5 separate regions of the Homo sapiens genome follow, and all the other regions are linked to region 5. The links are contacts of gene promoters, found by promoter capture Hi-C in blood cells and fetal thymus (Javierre and others, 2016). All regions are on one chromosome and are shown on one strand. Each heading gives the region's core, a stretch centred on a gene start or on the middle of the fragment in contact. The rest is flanking DNA. Distances are from core to core; before and after follow the strand shown. Region 1 has its middle 15 kb from the start of PIP5K1B. Region 2 has its middle 35 kb from the start of PIP5K1B. Region 3 overlaps PIP5K1B (phosphatidylinositol-4-phosphate 5-kinase type 1 beta). Region 4 overlaps PIP5K1B (phosphatidylinositol-4-phosphate 5-kinase type 1 beta). Region 5 holds the start of PRKACG (protein kinase cAMP-activated catalytic subunit gamma).

Region 1 (2,700 bases), core at 190-2,689, 320 kb before region 5:
AGCCCAGGAGGTCAAGGCTGTAATGAGCTATGATTATGCCACTGCCCTCCACCCTGATAAAGCAAGATTCTGTCTCTAAAGGAATGAATGAATGAATAAAATGACAAGTATATTGCATCAGTCAGAGCCCAACCAGAGAAAGAGAACTAGTGAGAGATATATATTAAGAGGTTTATTCCAAGGAACTGGCTTGTGTGTGATTGTGGAGGCTGGCTAGGCATGTCTGAAATCCATAGGGGAGACTGTCAGGAAGGGCAGGCTGGAACCATCAGTCCTAAGCTGAAGCTTGGTTCACAGGTGGGATCTCTTCTTCTCCAGGGAATCCTTGGCTATGCCTTTCAATTGCCTTTCTAATGCCTTTCAACCAATTGAATGAAGTCCATTCAGATTATCTAGGCTAATCTTCTTTACTTAAATCCAATTGATTACAGGCTTTAATCACACCTACAAAATACCTTCACAGAAACACCTAGTGTTTAACTGATTAACTGATCTAGCCACGCTGACATGTAAAACTAGCAAATGTATCCACATATATATCCACAAAGATAAATCTCATATATCCACAAAGATAAATCTCATAAATGTAATGCTGAACAACAATTAAAGTTGCAAAATCATACATAAGATAAGGTAACACTTATATAAAGGTTTAAAATGGGCAAAAAATTTAACAAAGTTTATGAATATATGGATATATAAAAACATGTAAAGGAATGATAAAGTTACTTTATGTTACTGAGTGCCACTGGGAAGGAAGGAAAGGAGTGAAATTGGGAGTAGTTTTACTGTATCTATAATATTCTGTTTGTTTGTTTGTTTGTTTGTTTTTAAAGGCAAGAGACTCCAAAGTAAATCAGGCATACAAAAATCTTATAAAACCTGGCCCTGATATTGTAATTGCTTATTGTATTATTGTTAATACTTGGGTGCGTGTGTGCAATCTTGCACAATCATTATTTTTTAAAAAGCATCATGATTAACCCCCTTTGCACAAGCCTAAAAAGTGGTGTTTATACTGGGTGGTCAACTTTGATTCAGAACTACACTGGATAGGACCAGACAGTAGAGGCTTCTTTTTTGTTTTCTAAATGCTAAACAACACTTTGGTGGATGCTCTGGGTTTTCTTTCATGGTCCAGTGTTTCAGGGAATGAACCTCACCTCCTGGGAGTTGAGCCTGGAAAATCACAGCATTCATCATGCTCCAGCCTGTGCCCAGTGGAGAGCACAGAGCAGGGTGAGTCATTCTTACTTGAGCCCCGACCTTGGCTGACCTTCGTAGTGCCAAGGTCTGGAGCCAAATGAAACTCCTGACTTAAGGAGCTAGAGATAAAGAGGCGGGTGGCTGGTCACATGGTACGTGGCCGCTGATGGAATGTGACTTGTCAGACCCCCCCCAGGGGGCTTTCAGTAGGGCCTGCATTTGTATTTATTATACCAAGAGACATAATGCTGAGAGTTCTTCCTGAAGAACGTCAGACTTCTGATTTAAGAAGTGGTTGTATACAGATCCAAAGGTTGTAATCTGCAACATGCCTGCAGAAATTTATCAACTGACATTTTTGTATGGCATGCCAACGTAAGTCTTTTTGCAAAAATTAAACTCTTTTAGGATTAAAAAGAACACATGCTATTTGTAAAAATTTGGAATATGTGAAAAGCTAGAGAGAAGAAAACAAACCTCTGAAGCTCACTACCCAACATTATCAGTGATTATCTTTTAGCCTTTTTTTCCCGGTGTCATACTTTTTTCTGTAGTTAATGTACCCTTTCAACAATGGTTATTGAGCACCCAGCAAGTACCAGGCTTTATTCTCGGTGCTAGAGATATGGAAATGTACAAAACAGCCAAGGTCCCTGCTCTTGGGGAGCTAATAAGAAAGAAGGGTAGACTAACCATTGAAAATCAGTATATAAATATACAAGATACATTTAGATACAAAATGGTATTATGGAAAAAATGATACCTAATAATACCGAAGACTTATAATGTGCTATTCTAAGCCTTTCACTCATGTGTATCAATACATTGAATAAAACTGATGTCTGTGTGTGTGTGTGTGTGTGTGTGTGTGTGTGTGTGTGTGTGTGTGTGTGTGTGTTAGAGGGAAGGTTAGGCTATTACAGGAAATCTTTCAATGCAATGATCAGGAATGTCCTATTGAAGAAGACAACGTAGGAACGAAGGTTTACTTAAAGGGAAAAAGATGGCCATGGAAGACCCAGATTGAGAGCCTTCCCAGCAAAGGGAACAGCAAGTTTAAATACCTTGAGCATAAAATAGTTTGGCATGTTCATGAAACAGAAAAAAGTATGTCTGGGACTTCAAGGAACAAAAGGCAGAAAGGTCTGCAATGAAACCAAAGATTGTCCTTTTTGGGTTCTCCAGGGAACTCTTGAGAGCAGCAGAAAAAGGCATTTTTTTTTTCCAGTGGTTTCATTCTCTTCTTATCCCACCCACTACTTTCACACTCTCATTTCTGTATGAGGAAAGGGCTGAGCTTTTGTTGCAGCTGCTACTCTTGGAACAGTTGAGACCATTAACTCACATCTCCTGCACCTGACATGCCAGCATCCTACAGGCAGAATTTAAAGCTTCGGGGTCCTCTTTGCTAAAATGCTACCCACACTTAAGTCCACACAAAGTTGAAGGCAGCTTTGCAATTGAGTTTTACCAACAATCTTAGGACCCACATTA
Region 2 (2,700 bases), core at 128-2,627, 340 kb before region 5:
GGTGGTGACAGTTGTACAGGAAAGTGAATGTACTTAAAACCAACGAACTACATACTTCAAAATGGTTAAGATGGTAAATTTAAGTTATGTGTATTTTACCACAGTTGTTAAAAAAAAAATGTTTAAAAACCACTGATCTCAATAAACACAACAACAACAACAAAAGCTGTTGTAGCAGGAACTGTGACCCTCCTCATTGGTGCTATCTTTTTGCAGGGTCTGGTGCTCACTGTGTGTAATCGTGACTGCGGGGACCCGCCTATCGGAGTAAATATGTAAAAGGAGGTGAAGAGGTGGGCCTGATCCCTGGCCCGAGGAGTGAATTCAGGCAAAGCCCTTGATGTCTTTGTGCCTAAGTGTCTCTCCAGTTGAGGAAAACAGTCGCTGTTGTTAAGCCTCCTGGGTAGATGCCAAAAGAATGGCCACTCATGAGGAAGAGGGCTGCATTAGGCTGAGAAAGCCGCAGGAAGTGACTGAGAGGGAAGAGAGAAAGGTCAGTGTGTTTGTTGTGTGAAGAGTTGGAGGTCAGTTCTAAGAGACAGAAAAGCAATAAAATCTGGAGATGGAAAATAGCTAGGAAGGAAGTAAGAAATGAAAAGACCCGTGGCGCATACCACTGGCAAAGATGCTTCCTGGCAACAGGTTTCTCAGACTTTGTCCATGAACTCCTGCGGGCCTTCGGACAGACTCTTGGGGATCCTCAATTCTCAACAAAAATTTTCTAATGTTATTTTTTTCTGATTAGGATAATCAAAAAGTGATTTAAGTATGTTCTGCATATGACATTTATGTATGTATAATTGTTAAGCAATTTCCACAAATTAGAGATTTTGACTTTTACTGACTTTTAGTGTCTGAGCACTATTATTATGGATAGCTATGTTCCAATGTCAAATTGTCAGGAAGAAGGCTGTGCCCACCTCTCTCCTCATATCAAAATCCTGTCTGGTGATGATTTGCCATCACAAAACCTATTTCTATAGTAATATTTTAGTCTCTCATGTTATTCAATAACTTGAGACTTTTAGATTTGCCATCATTTACACTAACATACTGTGGTCAAGCAGTAACATACGGCTGCGACTGTTCTAGTGGATGTGAAGTGTAAATGAGGTGCTACAGCCAATGAATGGCCAAAGGACATGGGACTCCTCTGGATGAGCAAAGCTTTCACAGGAGTTTAAATATCCTAGGTAAAGTCAAAGTGACTGCGATAGAAAGAAAACTTGACTGAAGATCAAATTATTCATAAAATTCTATTTCTGATATGTACAGGATTCTGTCAATATTCTTATCAACTCTTTAATAAAACTAGAAATTTGTTTTTGACATCTGCAAGGAAAAAAAGAACCCAGATATGCTGATGCCACCAATAACTAAATTAGACAAACACATTTAGTACACATTTGGTAATTCAGTAAAGCTAAGAAATTTTAAGAGAATGTAACTTTTCAGAGTCTATAAAGCAGTGTAACATTAGAATTGCTTTTTTGTTTTGTTTTCTTTTTTCTTTTTTTCTTTGTTTATTTTAAAATTGCTTTTTAACTTAGGTTAACTATAAGGTATAATAACCCTGAATTAGCAAACAAAAGCTTATTGTTATTAATACTGTTTTGTACAAAATATTTTGCAAATAGGCATTATTCACACTGATATTGTTGAAATAAAAAAACAAGAGCAGGGTAAATGTAGATATGGACTTGTTTTCTTTTTAGTACTAAAGCCTACATCGACAATTTAGTTTTAGCCAAGCAATAATTTCTGTAAAAATAATTTAATATTGTAAATATGAAATTGATTGCTTTTCTTGTTTTGGTTTGCATTTATACTCCTTGCCCTTTTTTCTAGTATGTAAGAGCTACGAGCACAATGAGAATACACCTAGGCTTACTTGTACTTAAATAACATTACAATATAAGTGCTTAAGAGAACCCTAGGAGGCCTATGAGAATTTGTTTTCTCAGAAGTGCTTTGCACATCACTCAAGCTAGACAAATACTGTTTTAGAAACACAGAGGAAGGCAACATCAATGTAGCCTGGGTTGTCAGTGTCAAAAGACCATTCTTCATGGGATTCTTGTTTCCATATATCTTGTGAGCGGAGGCATGGACTATCTTTGTTCTTGGCTAACTTTTCAAGGATTTTTGTATAGTAAACACATTGAGAGAGAGAGGTAATGTCTTTCTAGGAAGCATCAAGCATTGGAGTTTAGAGATAGTAAAAGGGAAGCGTGTTTACCATCCATTATAAAACATGAGGCTGTCCTAAGTTCTCTCTATTCCTCTCCTTATAGTGCAGCTTACTGTGTGTGCTGGTGTCACTTGACCCTCTCCACATTACCCCAGGGGCATCAGGACTTGAAGAACTGGCCCAAAAATGCTGCTACTCTGGCTACTACCATTGCTGTGAGTTAAAAACTGTCCTTTGTCTCTGACCCAGGAGTTCTATGCCTTCTACCAGCATCCATGAAACTTGGCTGGCTAAATTGTTAGCTTTCCAGTAGCTATTATGAAATCTCAGGCCCTTTGTGATTATTTTTTTGTTTGTTGGTTTGGGTTTTGTACATATTTATGGGGTACATGTGACATTGTGTCACATGCGTAGAATGTGTACTTCTACTTCAGGATGTTTAGGAGATCCATCACCATAAACTTTACCATTTCTATGTGTTGAGAACATTTCAAGTTCTCACTTCTAGC
Region 3 (2,700 bases), core at 107-2,606, 270 kb before region 5:
GAAACAGGGTTGTCACTCTGTCTCCCAGGCTAGAGTGGCACAACTATAGCTCACTTCAGCCTTGACCTTCCAGGCTCAAGCAATCCTCCTGCCTCAGCCTCCTGAGTAGCTGGGACTACATTTCCATGCCACCATGCCTGGCTAATTTTTTATTCCAGTATAAAGTTGGGGTTTCGCTATGTGCCCAGTCTGGTTTCAAACTCCTGGGCTCAAGTGATCATCCTGCCTCAGCCTCCCAAACTGTTGGGATTACAGGCACGAGGCAGGCTTGGCCCAAAATGTCTTTTAATGTCAGTTTTGAATGAGCTTTCATAAGAACACTGCATATGTGTGAGGAGAAATCCCTTTCACATGGTGTAGATTTGGTAAGCAATATTTCCAATATCAGAAAGACTTGGTCAGTGTATGTTGATTTGCCAAAACCCACTGGCATATAAGGATGCTGTGGCTGTTGACTTTTCACATTTGCTTAACCAAAGTGCCAGTTTATTGAAGATGAGTTCTGTGTCATGTTTTACTGCCCTGCATGTTAAGATTTGCTTTTCATGACACTAAGACAATGGGAGATTGAATGGGTGGAGTTAAAGAGGCCCCTGTCCTTCTATTGATTCTCCTTGGGTTTCCTGCTGAGTATGGGTTGAGGCTCTGGCCTTCTCAACTGGGTGCCAGATGAATGTACCGGGAATCCTGTTAGGGTGACATCTAAGAAGAAGACTCATAAAGCACAATATTGGGAACTCAATCAGAGCTTGTTTCAGGAGGATCAGGGCTGAGCTTAGTGGGGGTTCTTGGTGATAGGGATTCCTTCCTGAAACACATTTGTCTTCCTGGAAAAGGAGGAAGGTGTAAGAACGAGAACCACTGATGTATGCAGGAGGTCCGTAGCCTCAGTTGCCATAGATACTGAAGGCTCTGCATGGCCTGGCCAAGGATGGACAATGTTACAAGGTGGACCCACAAACCACAGTGATCTTCATCCTCAAGCTGGGGCATGCTGGGCCTCATTTTTGGAAAGTACATTTTCCACGAGATGTGCTAACACAATGGGGTTCTATGTATAATCTGCCTTGAACAAATAGGTTTCATGGGAGGCCACGAAAAAACAACTTCATCAAGTCTCCCACTCTCCCATTAAAATTTATTCAGTGGAAAGCATTTCCCCTGTTTTTTGGATGAAAACATATCACGTGGCTATTCTGATTCCTCATATATAATAAAAAGCCCCACTTTAATTTGCCAGATATTTAAAATGTCTAGTATCATGGGATAGTTAAAGCTTCCAGCTTCATTCATATTTATAACTGCTCCCCTTCCCCTGGCTAGGGCCTGTTGCAGGGAGAGGGGGCTGTGGTTGGAGGCTTTTTCTCTTGCTTACTCAGTAGCTATGACTTCTGGACTGGGGTGAGGGGCTGGGTGGGGAACAGGAAGGAGTGTAGGAAAGCTTTTACTAGGCAGGCGGTATCATAGGAGAGCTCTTTTTGTGTTGTGGGTGTTTAGAGTTGATTCTTTCTCTTGTGGGGCCCTTTTGTGGGTTCTTTGGAGATACCCTCTCACCTTGTCTCTGGGGGCCTCTCACCTCCAATTTCCTTGGTGGGGCTGCTGCACTCTCTTCAGCCTAATTGCAGACTGTTTCCACAGTCTCTAGAAAGCCCACCAATCCATTCGTACTCCTGTCTGCTGGGTTCTATTGCTGTCCAGGTGGCCCTTGTTGGGAAGACCCTAATATATAGCCCTGTACATATGCTCATGGTGTGGTCCATGGGAAACACTCACACTTCCTTTGTTCCCACCAACTGGGAGAGGGCAGGCTGCTCCCAGGGCAACTGTCGTTTCCTTTGGCTTGTCCGTCAGCATCCAGCCAGCTCTCCAGTTCTTCAGATTTCTTAGGCAGAAGTCCCAAACAAGGTCACAGTGCCTTCCACATCGTAAGAGCCTCATGCTCTCCAGGTAGTCCTGTTGAGCCCCCTCATGAGGCTGGAAGGGGGAGAAGCAGGGAGGGGCAGGTACTCTTATCTCTTCCTAAGCTTAGTCCTTTAGGCTAGGACCAGACTGGACTGCAGCCTGCTTGCTTCAATCATTCTCTCCTTTTAGCCACCAACAAGCAGTCTGACCTACTTGTAGCCACACCGTAGGTAAGAGGTTTAAGACCAGTGAAAAAGGTTTTGGGCTATGTTCTTTGAAAAACTGCATCTAGGCCTGGCACTTCACTTTGGAACCTGGTATCTCATCCATCTTAGCGGCTTGTTTGACACATCCCATTTTGACATTCTGTAATACTTTCTTGGGAAGCAGGGCTTATCCTTAGCTCTTGGAGATGCACATGACACACAGCATAGAAAAGGCTCCTGGGAGTAGACAGGAATGTCCACTTCACTCCAGCCTCTTCCTCTCCTGCCCTCCATCCTGCTCCAAGGGCCTGTGCTCCACCTGAATCTTCCATCCAGGAAGCTCCCTCTCTGCTGCCTGCTCCCACTCTGTGTTGCCAGCTCCTTCTGTTCCTTTAGGATTCCTTAATGTTCCTTCCTTAGTAAAGACTTCTTTGTTCAAACCCCACCTAAGTAGATCTCCCCTAATTTTCTGTTTTCTGTTACCGCAATTCCCTTTATTTCCCTCACAGTACATCTTATATTATAAATGATAACGTTTCCAAATAAATTATACAAGCTATTTAGTGTCTTACTCTCACATCAAATGGTAAGC
Region 4 (2,700 bases), core at 160-2,659, 300 kb before region 5:
TTACTCTTTCACCTTTAGTTTATCCCTTCCCCCCTTTACTACATGCCACTTCATCAAAGGAATGAAACTTAACAAGTGCGTTTTAGCTTAACATCTACAGTATATTGTTTAGTTTACTGTTTGACTTGAAAATATTCTGAGGGGTTAAAGTACTGTAAGGTACATGTCAGGGCTTACTTGAATATTCTAATTGTAAGCTCATAACTTTTTTTTTTTAGCTTTATGGTTTGCATAAAGTAAGTGCTCAGTAAATAGCTGTTGAATTAATGAAGGGGGTGAATGAAGTCATTCATAAGGAAAACATATGCTGTAAAACATAGAAAGCATCTTACCATGTAAATTCCCAACACATAAGATAATTTGCCTACAGGCATGTGCCTCCTGAAGCTGGCGGGTACAGAGCCCATTGTTGCTCTCTTTTCTGAAGGCATCATATAGGGAAGAGCTTTTCTTTCTCCCTAGACAGTAGACTCATGTCATCTATGTTATGCTCTTTTGTTTGCCGCCCCCCCGCCCCTTTAGTTGTTAGTATTACAGCTGCTGAAAGATACATTCCTAGAAATTGACTTGTCCCATTTTATGAAAGGGTATGTCTTGACATGGGGAAACCAACCATTCTGTTTTTAAAACAGGGTATTGAATAAATTTCAGGAGATGCTAATACTGTCTCGTGGTTTCAGAGGGGGAACCTAGTTAACAAAACCAACCTAGTTTCTGTTCCTTTTAACAATCTTCTCTTTCTACTCCTCCTCTTTATATACAGACAAGTAGTGTTTTTATGTTTGGAAGAATGATAAGAAAGAATATAGTGATCTTAAATATTATTAATGGATCTGCAATTTACATTGGGGATTGATGTATGTTTCCTTCTGATAAAGAATTTAAATATTAATTAGTTTAGAAGTACCGTTTATGGGTAAGAAAACTAAAACTTAGGTGAATTGACTTACTTATGGTCACAAAGATGATAGCAGGAGGACCAAGATCAATGTGGAATTCTTAAGAAGGTTCATATTTGAGTTTGTCCCAGGAGTTCTATGGTGAAGGTACAGTTTTGACTTTTAGAAATCATAGAGATTAACAGAAAACTTCTGTTTACTATCATTATTAGAGAGTTAGTACATTTGAAAATGGTTTAGCATTTATATGTTTAAGTTTTCTTGCCCAAGCAGATGCCATTAAAAATAACATGTTTTTTTCTCTTTACTTTTTTTTTGTTTTTTGAGTCAAGGTCTCATTCTGTTTCCCAGGCTGGAGTGCAGTGGCCCAACTCCAGCCTCAACCTCCCCAGGCTCAGGTAATCCTCCCACCTCAACTTCCTGAGTAGCTGCAACAACAGGCACGCACTACCATGCCTGGCTAATTTTTGTATTTTTGGCAGAGACAGGGTTGCACCATGTTGCCTAGGCTGGTCTGTAACTCGTGGATTCAAGCAATCCACAGGCATCGGCTTCCCACAGTGCTGGGATTACAGGTGTGAGACCCTGTGCTCGGCCAAAATGTTTGTTTTTATCTATTCACTATGATTCTTCTGGCTTATGTGCATCACCAGACTCAGAAATAATACTTTGCTCCAATCAGTGCTGGGAGAGAGGAAACTGTTCAAATAGAAACCAAAGACCTGTAATCCCATGGGAGGCCGAGGTGGGCGAATCACTTGAGCCCAGGAGTTTGAGACCAGCCTGGGCAACATAGCAAGACCCCATCTATGCAAAAATAAAAAATTAGCTGGGTATGGTGGCACGTGCCTGTGGTCCCAGCTACTTGGGAGGCTGAAGTGAGAGGATCACTGGAGCCTAGGAGTTCAAGGTTGCAGTGAGCTATGATCGCACCACTGTACTCTAGCCTGGGTGACACAGCAAGGCCTTGTCTCAGAAAAGAAAGGAAAAGAAACACAAATGTATGCTGGTATTCTCAACTTCTCTTCCTGATATATAAAGCCAGAAGCCAAAGGTAGCCTTGTCATGCAGCTGGTAAAGTCATAAATATGTATACATTCAATTTGCATTTGCATTTTGCTTGTACTTCTGTTAGATGGTGAGTCAGAACATTTAATATCCTGGAAATTTTTTTTTCCCCCTATGGCCAGAGCCTTCAGTAGATTCTGTAAAACATCAAGTCCTAAATGTATTTGTTGCTGAAACATGTTCTCTTTGTATCAAGTGCATTAATGGGAGTTGGAAGGAATCCTTCATTTTTTTTTAGAAGCTGGCCAGTTAGAACTGTACATTATGTAGCTCTACTGTTCATTTGTGGTCTTATCAATAGAGCAGGATGTGTTACTTTTTGCTGAGTGCCAGAGAACTGGGGTGGGAGGAAACCTAGGCTTCTGTTTTATTTTTTTTCTTTTTAAAAATCAACTTTAAACTTAATTTATGATGAAATTTTTGGGGTACTGTGTCGTAAACAATCAGCTGCTATTGACAGAGAATTGTATTCAGTCAGGTTCCTTTTCATATATAAGATTAGGTCAGGGAAAACAGGCTTGCTTTTGTACATTCTATTCTCAATTGTATTTACTTCTGTATCGCTTCATCAGAGGTATATAAAGGAGATAATCACACAGGAAAACACAGGAATCCTGCCCAAACTAGATTACTCTTGGAAAGATTTGAAACAGAGTGATTGGGACAAGGTTGCATGTTCAGTAAGCTGACAGTGCCTTGGTATTATCATTTTAAGTTAAAACAAACTAGCACT
Region 5 (2,700 bases), core at 94-2,593:
GGGGCTGGGGCAAGGGGGACCCTGTGGGAGGAGAAAGAGAGAAGCACAGAGGGACCAGGAAGGCATGGGGGGGGGTGAGGGAGCAGCTGGTGTTTCTGTTCCTCCAAATATCTGGGCTTCCTGCTCCCCCAACCCTGGAGGGTGGGGTGAGGATGAAATTAGATACAAGGAACTCTGGGGCCCTCTGGCTGTTCAATCCAACCCTCCCATCCCCCAAACCACCAAAAACAAAAAGGAAAGAAAACCCACAGGGGCACAAGCACACCCCTAAAACTCAGAAAACTCCTTGGCACACTTCTCATTGATGGAGATCCGGAGCTCTTCCTCCTCGTAGTCGTCAAAGTTACTGGCATCCCCAGGGCCTGTGTACTTCGGGATGAAGGGAGCTTCCACCTTCTTCTCATAGATGGCGATCCAGCTGGTTGTGGCGAACCACTTGTGGTTCTTGATGTCGCCAACCCCGTTCCTGAGGTTTCCGAAGCGCTTGGTGAGGTCCACCTGCAGCAGGCTCCGCAGCAGATGCTTGAGGTCAGAGCTGAGTTTGGAGGGAAACCGCACCCTCCCAGAGACGATCTTCTCGTAGATCTGGATGGGCTGGTCGGCGTAGAAGGGTGGGAAGCCCACGGCCATCTCATAGATGAGCACCCCTAGGGCCCACCAGTCCACGGCCTTGTTGTAGCCTTTGCTCAGGATGATCTCGGGGGCCAGGTACTCTGGGGTCCCGCACAAGGTCCAAGTGCGGCCCTTCACGCGCTTGGCGAAACCGAAGTCCGTCACCTGCAGGTAGCCCTGCTGGTCGATGAGGAGATTCTCGGGCTTCAGGTCGCGGTGGATGAGGTCGAGCGAGTGTAGGTACTGGACGGCCAGGACGACCTGGGCGGCATAGAAACAGGCATGGGGCTCGCTAAACCTTCCGACGCGCTGTAGGCGGGAGAACATCTCCCCACCCGGCACGTACTCCATCACCAGGTACAGGTAGGAGTTGTCCTTAAAGGAGAACTGGAGCTTGACGAGGAACGGAAAGTCGATCGCCTGCAGGATGCGCTTCTCGTTCAGTATGTGCTCGACCTGCTTCATCTTCACCACCTTCTGCTTGTTGAGGATCTTCATGGCGTAGTGGCCGCCGGTCTCCTGGTGCCTCACCAGCATCACCCGCCCGAAGGAGCCCATGCCCAGCGTCCTGAGCCGTTCGAACTGATCCGAGCTGGCGGTGTTTTGAGCGGGGTTTCCCCATCTGTAGAGGAAATCTCCTCTGGCTTTGGCTAGGAACTCGTTCACGCTCTCCTCCTGCTCGGTGTCCTTCTTGGCGGGGGCGTTGCCCATGGCGGTGGCGGCGGCAGGGGCGGGGGTCTCGCGGCGGCGGCGGCGGCGGCGGCAGCGGCGGAGATGGCGCCCCCTGGGGCTGGCTGCGCTGGCTGCGGCGCTGCGACCCCCGCCCGGCCTCCGCTTATATTCCCAGCTACATGGGAGGCTGAGATGGGAGGATTTCTTGAGCCTGGGAGGTCAAGGCTTCAGTGAGCCAAGATCACGCCGCTGCACTCAACAATATGGATAAATCCAAAAGGCATTATGCAAGTGAGAGAAGCCAACTCTAAAGGAGACTTACTGTATGAATCCATTTCTATGACATTCCAGAAAAGGCAAAACTATAGTGTGAGAGAACAGATCAGTGATTGCCAGGGCTTGGGGTTAGGGGACGGTTGGACTATGAAGGGACAGCCTGAGGGAATGTGGGAAGTGGTGGGACATGTTTGTATCCTGATTGTGCTGGTGGTTACAATGTATTGGGTGGTGGTCTACATTTGTTTTAAAACTCATAGAACTGGCCGGGCGCAGTGGCTAAAGCCTGTAATCCCAACACTTTGGGAGGCCGAGGCGGGCGGATCACAAGGTCAGGAGTTCGAAACCAGCCTGACCACCATAGTGAAACCCCGTCTCTACTAAAAATACAAAAAAATTAGCCAGGCGTGGTGGCGCATGCCTGTAATCCCAGCTACTCGGGAGGCTGAGGCAGGAGAATTGCTTGAACCTGGGAGGCAGAGGTTGCAGTGAGCAGAGATCGTGCCACTGCACACCAGCCTGGGCAATAAGAGTGAAACTCCATCTCAAAAACAAACAAACAAACAAACAAACACCTCAAAGAACTGTATACTTCCCCCCAAAATTCAGTTTTACTGCATGTAATGTTTTATTTTAACACATACATATGATTTCCTTTCTTCTGTTTGCTTTGGGTTTAATTGCTCTTATTTCCTAAGGTGGGAACTAAGGTCACTGATTTGAAATCTTTCTTCTATTACAATCACTTAGTGCTATAAATTTCCTCCTAAGTATTATTTTTTGCAGCATCCCACAAATTTTGGTATGTTGTATTTTCCTTTTCATCCAGCTCAAAATATTTTCTAAGCTCCCTTTTCATCTTCTTTGACAGATAAGCTATTTAAAAGTATATTATTTCGTTTCCAAATACTTGGGGATTTTTCAAGAATTTTCCTATTGATTTCTGATTTAATTCCATTGTTAGAAAACATACTCTGTGTGACCTAAAATGTTTTACACTTCTTGGGGCTCATTTTATGGCCCAGAATATGATCTATCTTGGTAGATGGCCCATATGCACTTGAGAAGAATGTATATTCTGGTGTATTCTGCTGTTTGAGGATACAGTGTTCTACAAATGTCACTTAGGTCAAGTTGGCT

What was found. The method cuts DNA at HindIII sites, captures the fragments that hold promoters and counts their contacts. A CHiCAGO score of 5 or more calls a contact.
Region 1: a contact is called between a fragment that was not itself captured here and the fragment with the promoter of PRKACG in region 5, in 10 of 17 cell types (erythroblasts, megakaryocytes, M1 macrophages and 7 more). The highest score is 16.8, in erythroblasts.
Region 2: a fragment that was not itself captured here is called in contact with the fragment with the promoter of PRKACG in region 5 in 12 of 17 cell types (M1 macrophages, megakaryocytes, M0 macrophages and 9 more); the score reaches 14.3 in M1 macrophages.
Region 3: a fragment that was not itself captured here is called in contact with the fragment with the promoter of PRKACG in region 5 in 12 of 17 cell types (erythroblasts, megakaryocytes, M1 macrophages and 9 more); the score reaches 11.8 in erythroblasts.
Region 4: a contact is called between a fragment that was not itself captured here and the fragment with the promoter of PRKACG in region 5, in 8 of 17 cell types (erythroblasts, megakaryocytes, monocytes and 5 more). The highest score is 17.5, in erythroblasts.

The regions. Positions count from the first base shown.
Region 1 is chr9:68,688,963-68,691,662 of GRCh38, forward strand. No RefSeq gene overlaps it. Among named protein-coding and RNA genes, the nearest start is that of PIP5K1B, 15 kb to the right of the region's middle. The HindIII fragment of the contact is 2,312 bases long and covers 284-2,595 here.
Region 2 is chr9:68,668,994-68,671,693 of GRCh38, forward strand. No RefSeq gene overlaps it. Among named protein-coding and RNA genes, the nearest start is that of PIP5K1B, 35 kb to the right of the region's middle. RefSeq lists an enhancer at 88-640. The HindIII fragment of the contact is 425 bases long and covers 1,166-1,590 here.
Region 3 is chr9:68,743,226-68,745,925 of GRCh38, forward strand. All of the region lies in intron 2 of PIP5K1B (phosphatidylinositol-4-phosphate 5-kinase type 1 beta), which reads left to right. Among named protein-coding and RNA genes, the nearest start is that of PABIR1, 35 kb to the right of the region's middle. RefSeq lists a silencer at 804-998. The HindIII fragment of the contact is 165 bases long and covers 1,275-1,439 here.
Region 4 is chr9:68,708,037-68,710,736 of GRCh38, forward strand. All of the region lies in intron 1 of PIP5K1B (phosphatidylinositol-4-phosphate 5-kinase type 1 beta), which reads left to right. Among named protein-coding and RNA genes, the nearest start is that of PIP5K1B, 4.1 kb to the left of the region's middle. The HindIII fragment of the contact is 4,887 bases long and covers 1-2,700 here.
Region 5 is chr9:69,012,770-69,015,469 of GRCh38, forward strand. PRKACG (protein kinase cAMP-activated catalytic subunit gamma) reads right to left here and starts at 1,344. Exons shown (of 1, transcript NM_002732.4): 1 at 1-1,344. The coding sequence starts at 1,323. The coding sequence ends at 268. The HindIII fragment of the contact is 8,295 bases long and covers 1-2,700 here.